Linked DNA regions of Homo sapiens: region 1 is linked to region 2. Evidence: promoter capture Hi-C in 16 types of primary human blood cells and fetal thymus (Javierre and others, 2016). All regions are on one chromosome and are shown on one strand. The core of a region is centred on a gene start or on the middle of the fragment in contact, and the rest is flanking DNA. Distances in the headings are between cores, read along the strand shown. Region 1 holds the start of DENND1B (DENN domain containing 1B). Region 2 overlaps PTPRC (protein tyrosine phosphatase receptor type C).

Evidence for each region. Contacts are between HindIII fragments. The CHiCAGO score rates a contact against its expected background, and 5 or more counts as called.
Region 1: the fragment with the promoter of DENND1B here is called in contact with a fragment that was not itself captured in region 2 in 2 of 17 cell types (M2 macrophages and fetal thymus); the score reaches 7.1 in M2 macrophages.

The regions. Positions count from the first base shown.
Region 1 is chr1:197,773,484-197,778,536 of GRCh38, forward strand. DENND1B (DENN domain containing 1B) reads right to left here and starts at 1,997. Exons shown (of 23, transcript NM_001195215.2): 1 at 1,656-1,997. The coding sequence starts at 1,672. RefSeq lists silencers at 1,345-1,854, 2,005-2,204, 2,496-2,790 and an enhancer at 3,165-3,214. The HindIII fragment of the contact is 6,146 bases long and covers 491-5,053 here.
Region 2 is chr1:198,681,554-198,686,677 of GRCh38, forward strand. All of the region lies in intron 2 of PTPRC (protein tyrosine phosphatase receptor type C), which reads left to right. Among named protein-coding and RNA genes, the nearest start is that of PTPRC-AS1, 17 kb to the left of the region's middle. RefSeq lists an enhancer at 117-687. The HindIII fragment of the contact is 7,286 bases long and covers 109-5,124 here.

The sequences.
Region 1 (5,053 bases), core at 747-3,246, 910 kb before region 2:
GCATATACTTTTCTTAAAATGTATTTACTGTACTTATGCATATTTAAAGTAGCAAACTATTCATAGCTCTAAGGCTAGCAACATAAAAAGCCTTCTTTTTATCCATTATCTTTGGAGAAACCAGCCATCTGCTTCCATGTTAGATTTTCCCACTAGAAACTGTAAGTTTACTTTGCTTAATTCAGAAGTTATTGACTTTTTTACTAACTTGCCATATTTGCAAAATTTCAAAGCAACATTGGTTAAATTTCAAAAAGTGAACTGAAATATACTGAGACACTTTTTCTTCATAACATTGCTGTTTAAATCTCTCGTTCCATCATAAGGTAAAAGATTAAGTCTGTTACCACAACGGCCAATGTGTTAATATCTCAGTTATTCCTGCTAACAAGACCTTAGTGCCTTTGTACATTGGCTGTATTTAATATGTACTTCCTTCAAGAAACGAATGCCAGCTCTGACTTTAAAAAAAAGCATTTCTTTTTTTGGAAGCTTTTCTTATAAGATATGAATCTGGAAACATAGGAAGTGACAAGACATATAAATTAACATGCAAATATACATTTTTTTAGCCTTTCCGCTATTAACTTGTTTCAATGGGAATAATCTGGGCTCAGATGACTTCCTCCCTCTTAAAACAATTAATGTCAAGAAGCATACTATTTTTACTCACTTACCCTGCCCACCATGATGTCAAACACACTGAAGAAAATAATTCTATTACATAATTTCCCTCTTTCCCTAATATTCTTTAGAATTTCTCTTAGGTGTAAAAGTTAAATATTGACTCAGTTTTACTTCTGTGAAATTCAAACGGCCTTTCACAATAATACAAATATACATGGCATTATTTTAAACTTTTTGAGAAGGAGATAGTAAAGGGTGGGTAAGCGAAGTAAAAAGGAATTCTTTCCAAAGTTAAGTTTCAGAAGAAAAATATAAAACTCATGCCTCTAAGATACCTAGAAACAAAATCACCACCGTTATTAAAATTGCTTTTTACCTAATCTCCTGAGCAAAGTAGTCGTTGATAAATACTTTAGCACACACATAAAAGTACCCTCTAATTGGATACCGTTTTGCAAGAACCATGCATCTACAGTTGCTGCATAAAGAAACACCAGAGACCAATCTAATTTTATAAGCAGAATCATAAGAAAACATCCAAGACAAAAGTAACAAACGGACTTAAGAAAACACCGGTTATATTTAATGCTCAGAGAGCACTCGGAATAATAACCTCTTAACCTCAACGCTGACTCCCTCCCGGACACCACACGCACACAGGCAGCCCCAGGAGAGTCACATCTGACACACTCGGGGGAAGCACGAGAACCCCTCAGCGGCGGTGTCAGGGGCCGCCCGGCCTCCCCTGTCCCCCGAAAGGCGGGCGTCGACAAGGCGCTAGTGGCCTCTCCGGGAGGAGCCGCGCCAACCACGGAGGGCCGGGGACGCAGGGCGGGCAGGCTTTGCGGCCTAGCGCCGTCCCGCCGGCCGGCCAGAGGCTTGGGGGCCGGACCGCACCCCCAGCCCGCCCGGCCAACCTCGGCCGCCCGGGGAGCCGGTTGAGCGCGGAGGCGCGGAGGAGCCGAGCTGGCCTGGGAGGGGCCGCCGAGGGACGCCCGCCCCCGACGCGCCCGGGCCCCCCCACTCACTTGGTCCTGCAGTCCATGGTTACATGTCGGTGTGGGGCTGTCCGTCCGGCCCCCGCGCGCTGGCCTGGAAGCCCGCAGCCCGGCCGCGCGAGGGTCGCGCCGTCCCCGCCCACGCCGGCGGCCACACAGGGAAAGAGGCTGCTCACAGCAGCCGTGGCGGCGGGCCCATGTCGGCTGCGCCCCCGGCACTTCCCCGCCTCCCACCCCACCCACCAGAGCCTTTCTGTGACAGCAGCGGTGGCGTGGCCGCCGCCCCCGTCTCCGCCGGTAGCCGCCACCAAAGCTGAGGCCTCTCAGTTCCTGCGACCGGGGCCGCCCGCTGCGGCTCCTGCACCTTCTTGCAAATCAGGAAGTCGCCGGGAGGGGGAAGGGGCGCGCGGGGACGCGCCCAGCGGCTTCACCTGGGCCGTGCGGCTCGCAAGTCGGAGACTGTGGAGGAGGCGGGGGCCAGGTCCCCGCGCCCGGGCGGCCAGAGGGTGCAGGGGGAGCGCTAGTGCCTGCTGGGATGGCCCACGTACCGCTTTGCCACCTAGCCAGAAAGGCAAGGTGCCCCCTGTGTCCTCAGCATGAACCAAACCGGCTTCCTTTCTGGGTCCAGTCCAGATTCCAGGGCGTCGGGGCTGCAACCCCACAAAGGGCGAAGTACCTGGAAAAGTACCTCGACCTGCAGTGTTTTCCACACACATACACACGGACTTGGGTTCCTTTCATTTCATACTACAAATTCAGAGCTCAAGTTGATGCCCCTGGCTCTTGCGTCACTCCAGCTGTGGCCTGCTTACAGCTCTCTGAAATCCAGAGCTACCCCCTCCTGATTCAGGAATGTTCAGACATGTGCACCTGCTAAATAGCCCTGTCAAGTAGCCAAATGGTAGTGCCCCACTTGTCTGCGCATGTGGGAGGCAGACATTCCTATACCACAGACTGCAGTGATAACCAAGGACTAACTTTTGAACACATGTACATAGTCGCAGGCCTCATAGTCTGGCAGTTTAGGCGAGTTCAGAGAGGGCACCACTGAATAAGCGTGGGAGGGACTGATTTACACAGCCCTAAAGCACATGTGAAGCAGGTTATGTGCACTCTCACCCAGTACTTGTCATAGGTGTGTGATAGATACTTTCATCAGCATTTTACAGATGAAGAAACCAGGGAGTAATGGCAAAGCTGGAGTTCACACCAGGTCTATCTGATGCTGATTATTTACTTCTACCTCATATTGCCTGTCTCCCTCCTCTGCTGTCTCATATTTAGGATCTACTGAGAAGACAGGTAGAAAAGTCTTATGATGGACATTCAAATGACTGTGGAAGGCCAGGCTCTTACACAGAGATCTTCTGGGAAAGGCCTTCTCCCAGCTAACACTGCCACCCTTGACACATAGCCACAGTGTTTCTTCCAAAAGGTGGTTACTTCAGACTTTATTCATGCAGAAGTTAAGATGATGAGAGGAAACCAAATGTGGTATGAATGTAGTGTGAGTCATAAGACATAAAAGTCAGAAAAGGAGTCTTAAGAATTAAAAAACTCAAGAGTCAGAGAACCTGAAGTTGCACTCAGTTATATAACCTTAAACTTTCTTGCCAAAATTGGGTACTACTTGGTCAACAGGATCAGAAATATTGTATAGCCATGGGCCTGTTAGTAAAAAATGAGGACGGGCCATAACTGGGAAACAAACAAACAAAAAAAAAATGTGTTTATCATAAAGTGTTGTCATAGCTTGACTCGGGGTGAGACACTTCAGTTTCTCGGTTCCTACATTTGTAAAATGGGAATTATTACTTGTACATCACATGAGCAGTGTGATGTTCAAGTAAAACAGGTGCTACAAATTTGTATTATCTTTTGAGAAATTATTCTGTGAATTTCAGTTTCACAATTAGGCAAACTATACTACATAAGTTTTCTTTTCCCAAATAAAGATTTTTCTGCATAAGTGACCATACTCCAAAGCCTTGAAAAAAAAAATTCGTAAGCTAAAAGCCACTTCTGCCCCAACTGTTACTGAATTTCTCAAACTTCTCCTTTCATTATAATTAATTATTTCCAAAGAAAGGAACCCTACTTGGGGTGACCATATTGAGGACTTTTTAATTTGGTGTGAGGAGATAATAATACAATTGTTTTCCTCATCCATTGTTGGGATTTTATTTTAAATGACAGTCATACCCTTGAACAGTATAAAATTGTTCTTCATTCCATTTATGTTAAGTACATCGAGGGAAATACTACACATTCGCATCCCAAAGCAAATCTTTTTAAGTGAGCTTTTAGGCTGACCATAATGAAGAGATTTATCTGTTCTGTTATTACTGAAATAAAAGGGATAGGAACATAGGTGTACATGATCTACATGCATGAGGTGTTAAAAAATTAGAAAACAAATATCATACACTTACCTTGGTAATAGCTTTAATGAAATCGATGGTATAACTTTAGTAATACTCATTTCATATAGAACTTCCCATATGACTGATAGAGAAGTGTACAAAGGGCAAACCTTCAAATTAGTCTTAAATCTTCCCAAGATCATATTTCAGCAATGATATTTCCTACTCGACAATTAATATTAACAGTTTTCAGGACCATACCAGTCAAAGAACATAGTCTGTATTGTTGTCAAAGAACATGGTCTTTATTTATTAATTAATTTCTTATTAATTAATTAATTTAGTTAATTTTTTAAATGTTTCAAGACTTAAATGTTGTATGTGGTTTGTAAAGAATATATATTCTGCAGCTTTGGGGTACAGTGTTCTAAATATATGTCCATGATCAAATACGATGATTGTGTTGTTGACATCTTCTATTACTGAATTTGCATCTGCTTGACATAATTCAATTAATGGGAGAGATGAGTTTAAATATCCCAACATGATGGTAGATTTTTCTATTTCAGCCTATAGTTCTTTCAGGTTCTACCTTACACAGTTTGGGGCTGTGTAATAATATACACATCAGTTTATAATTTCTATATCTACCTAATAAATACAACCATTCATCATTATGTTGTTACTTTCTTTACCTCCAATCGTACTTTTGCCTTAGATTCTAAACAGTTTTCTTCTGAATAGTATTTGTCTGATGTTAGGATATCTCTTTTCATCCTTTTACATTCAAACTTTCTAAACCATCATGTTTCAAATTTATCTAAAATTTTTAGTCTTGATTTTTAATCTAGTCTGATCATCTTTAGCTCTTACATCAAACCCCTAGACAATTTGCATGTATTAAAACTGTTGATAAATTTAGGCTGGGCGCAGTGGCTCATGCCTGTCATCCCATCACTTTGGGAGGCTAAGGCGGGTAGATTAGTTGAGGCCAGGAGTTCAAGACCAGCCTGGCCAACTTGGTGAAACCCTGTCTGCTAAAAATACAAAAATTAGCTGGGTGTG
Region 2 (5,124 bases), core at 2,502-5,001:
TTATCTAGTGGTAAAGGAATGTGAGTTCTATTTACAAATAAACATTTTGTCTTACTTTTTTCTTTGTGATCTATTTTCTCCAAGTTGCATAATGTAATGAATTAATAAAGCTTAGTTGCTGGCCAAATCAATGGTGACTTTTTATGTTTTTAAATATAATATTAGGTTTAACTTATTTTTGTCATTAAAATATCATTTGTGAGTGCTTTTCAAAATGAAGTGCTTCTGAAATAAATCACATAATAAAACTAACCTTACTTTTGAAATACATTTTTATTGAAGCAAACACAAATCAATCTGAAATTCAGCATTTTGTAGCAGTTAAATGTATAGTCAGGCAGCTTCAACGTCAACTAGAGAAGTTGTGGTTTTAACCCCGAGATAGGGCTGATTATGCTGGTGCTATGGCAACCTATTGCACCATTTGGTAGCGCCTGTGTGCTTAACCGCATGAGCTGCGCCTCTTCCTTTCCTATAAAGACTCAGAATAAGAAAAACAGAAGTACACCGAAGAGAAGAAACCACAAGAGCAGTAAAGACACTGCTGTTAGCTTTTAGCTGTGCAAACAGCAGTCTTATGAGAACAACACATTGAAAACCTCTTCTATTTGAAAGTGTAGCTTTTCCCATTATGCCTGGGTTCCTTTAATGATTTTGAAAGTAAGCCAAGTGTTTCTGTTCAGAGTTTTCATTAAAGGGAAATAAGAAGAAATAAGCAGTGCATTTATCAGCCTTTGCTTTTATTGTCCTCAGCTTTAGGAGTGGGAGGCTTTTGTGCAGCCTCAGCAGACATTTTATTCTGTTTGTGAGATGGGAGATTAGTTTCTATTAGGTGGACTCCCTATAATCTAGCATTTATTTTCTGCTTTTTTTTATTATATTGTAGTTAGTTCACAAAAAAAAGTACAATTTTAATTCATCTCCTGGCTCATTTAGAAAGGGTTGTGGTTGGTGCTGTAAACACGTTTCTACATAACTAGATTAAATTCACAGACACTCACTGTCCTAGCACTGTTTATTTTCTATGGGGAGCTTCATTTACCTATTCTTTCCCTCACCCCACTTCTTTTACAAGGTATAGGTTGATCAGCAAAGGCTTTTGTATGTTTTCCTTTGTTTCAAAGTACAGACATAATATAATCATAACTTTTTTTTGCATGTTCTACTATTTTTCCTTCCTTAAAGATTTGGGTAAAAATACTGAAGGACAGACAAGTTCATGCTACCATTTTTGTTAGGCATAGGCCTGTTCACTTTTCTTCCCATTTTTCTGAAAAATAAGAATCTACCCCTTTTGTAGTCATTGTCCAGCAATTTACACTTTTTAACAATAAGTTTTAATGTGTGGTACTCTGAATCCCATTTTGATGGTTATACATAATATTTACTCATTTTTGAGTCCCTAATAGCTCTTTAGCACAAATACTGGATTTAGCATTAAATATTTTTTCCTTACAGTGCAATGCAGTTGAACAAGCATGGGGGTTTTTACAGTCAGACAGATCTGCATTTAAATCTAGACTCATTTTGCTACAAGTTCTTTATTTAGCCTTGCATACACGTTTTTATGATTTTGAGCTTTCATCTGTGAAAAGAAGAGAATACCATCTACTTTGTAGGATTTCTATAATGATTAGATAAAATAATATGTAACAGTATTTAGGACAGTGCCATTCACATAGTACCCGCTTATTAAATAGTAAACACTGTTGATAGCACCAAATACACTAATAAAAGATTTCACCACTTATGCAAACATCTTTTGATGATTCTTTGTTCTTTAATGATGATCGTAACCTATCCTAGAGGAAGCAAAGAGCTACAAAAACATACACTTACTAAGGGATTAATATAATTAAATGGTTTTTGCTATCTGAAGTATATTGCATAAATCAGGTATATATCCCTGGATTTAGGTAAATGAAAACAGACATTTTCATAAGAAGCAAAAAGATAATTAATATGGGAACAAACCTATTCTGGAAAATGTTTAAAAAGAGAATATGGGTAAGGAAGCATCTTTCTCAGTTGTTCTTAACCCTTGTTTCCATCATAATCACCATCAGAGCTTTAAGAAAATACCAGTGCACAGATCACGTTACCCCACAAACCTACTAAATCAGATTTTCCAGCGCTGGAGCCCAGAAATAGTCACCTTTAATCTAATTCCCAGTCAGGATTAATACAAATAAAGGATTGATATTTTTTCTTCCTCAGGATAATAATACTGGTTACACACACATAAATATACATAACTGATAACAAGCCAGAATTTTGTAAACTATGTTCTCAGAAACATTGCAGTTACATTGTACAAATGTCCTATAGTATGTCCATGGGAAAAAAATGGGTTTGTGGCAAATACTTTTAGGAGATCTTGAGCTAAACGAAGTGACATAAGTTTCTATGCTTTTAATATATTAACACACTTTATAAATATCTCAAAAGGGCATGTAGCATGAATTACTTCTGAAACAAATTTGACTATGGGACATTTAAAGGCACACAAATCTAAATCAAAGACTTCAATTTGACCATCATTGCACAGGAAGCGATAAAATTTTCCCCCTGACTTGTAGATAAATAGTTTAAGACAGAAAAAAAGCAGTGTAACTGATTGTTCTTAAATGGTTATCTAGTAGCCTTTATTAATTTTTTTGTCATTAATTGTTTCGTTAATCAACATGCCTGAAATATATAACATGATGTTTTAAACCAAATATAAAATACCTACAAATGCATTCCTAGTTTTGAGGTGTGTGTTTGCAAAGTCATATGTATTCACAAGCAAAAAACATTATTGTAAATATTGGACACCATAAGTCATTGGGAGACAGCTAGATATGGTTGCTATCTTTAAAATTTTTTAATTATTTGATTTTATTCCTCTCATGGCCACAAAAATTTGCCTTCTTTATCCTCAATACTGCTTTACATACTGATATTTTTCTTTATTATTTGCATTATTATTTAAAAGTGTGTATATAATTTGAAAGTTTAAATAGTACCATAAGGCCTAGAGTAAGTAAGAACAGTCTTTTGCTCCCACGACTCTCCCCTCCCTTGATATTTTGTGATTTTTAAATGTTATCTTTTATTGTAGTGCTGTTTCTTTAAAACAAAAAAAAAGATTTTTGCCAGTATCTATTGACTTCTTCTCTTGATCTTGAGATGTTGCTTTTTATAACCTCTTGCTCTTTGTTCATGGGTGCAATGTTTTCTCATTTCTGAAAATATGAATTGTAGTTGGTTATCCTCTCTTTTGCTCCTTGCATTGCCTCATTCTCCCAAGTGCCTCTTTTGTTTATTTGAGCTCTATCTTTCTTTCTTATTAGAGGCTTTGTTCTAGTGTTTCTTGGATGTCCATTTGTATTTAATAAAAGGCCTCAATAAAGGGATGTTGAAATTCTTTGGACATTGGTGGAGCTCATAAATTCATGTGCTTTAACTAGATTGAATGAAATCAGAAAGGCACTACACTCACTGAGTCTTAGTTTCCTTATATATCAAATGAACTGCATGTCAATAATCACTAAAATCCTTTGCTTCTGTCTGAGTAGAAATCTTTGGAATTATTTTCTGATGATAAGCAGAAAGTCCTTTACTCATGAGATTCCAAAAATAATATTAATATACCCAATATTTTAACATAACGTCTACATAAAGAATAAGAAAATTATTAAATAGACACTATTTCAAATCTAGCACTTTCCTCGTGTGTGCCTGTGAGCAATTTACTAAACTCTTTTAGGTCCCAGTTTCATTCCCTATAAAAAAGGATAAATAATGCTAACTCATTGGCTTACTGGGATGCTTAAAAGAAAAAAAATACATATATATTATATAAAGAGGTGTGCATAGTGTCTGCTACATAACATTTCAGTAAACTGTTGCCATCATTATTATATTTACTGATAAGCTAATGGAGGGTAGAAAAGACTGTTTCCTGTGGTTCTCTGAAATCATAATACCTGGCTTGTCGCTGCCCAGAGTGCTTACTCCATAAATACTTAATAATTTAATATGATTTGTTAGATTTATTGTCTGTGGACCATATAGCAGATTTCTAGCATAAAAAAAGTGCAATTCTCTTATTTTTATTGTGCACTTTATTATTATCATGCATTGCTAAGAAAGGAAAGCCATACATATCTGTTTTAGCTGACCCTTATTTTTTGTCTTGATTTGCTTTTTTCCACTTTTGTACAGGCTTTATGTTTATGGAGGTCAAGTATGCATTCTCAACCTTCAAAACATGCTATCATTCATTTTAGGGCAGATGCTGAGAATAAGTATTTATTTAATCTATTCTATTTTACCCTTCTGCCCTTGTACTTTTCCCAGATTTGCAGAACTAGACAGGTTTAAATTCCCTAGGAAATAGCATCCCATTTTTTTTTCTTTTTTTTTTAGCGGGGAGGGAGAACGGGTGATATTTAAAGCCCAAGTATGTCTTTTGAAATGCCGTTTTCACTCAAATTGATTCCTAGTTTTTGCTGAAATCTCTGATCAGGGACTTAGGGGTGTGACTTCAAGGTAACTTTGATTTGTGATCATTTAAACATTTTGAGTTGTAAAAGAAACATATTGGGAAAGGTAAATTCAGTAACAATACATGTGTTAGAATAACACAGCTTTGAAGATCAAGTGTTCTGTTATCTACATTTTCATCTGTTTAATGTATCTAGTCAATTCCATTGGTGATTCACAACAGGATTATAATGGGAAAAAGAGCTCTTAGATAATTTACAGTTTTTTAGTGCTATGGTGCCACCTACTGAAATATTACTAAATACTCCTTTGACTAAATAATGAAAACACAAGACATTTAAGTTTTAAAAAATGTAGAAAATTTCATCCCTAGAAGATAAAAGTCAAAGTGTAGAATGTAGTAACTGTAATATGTGGAACACTAGATATATTACTGTGTTTTATTTTATATTTATTTGATGTGTTTATAGAATTTGAGAGAAAGCTCAATGCAGTTCTTACTTTGAGAAATAGTGATGCCTTCTCTTTATTGTCACACACCTACACATGTGCCCTCTTAATTTCCATTGCTATGTCACATATTTTGCTTTACCTATTTTCCACACTTTCCCAGTATTGTTCATAAAGAATGTT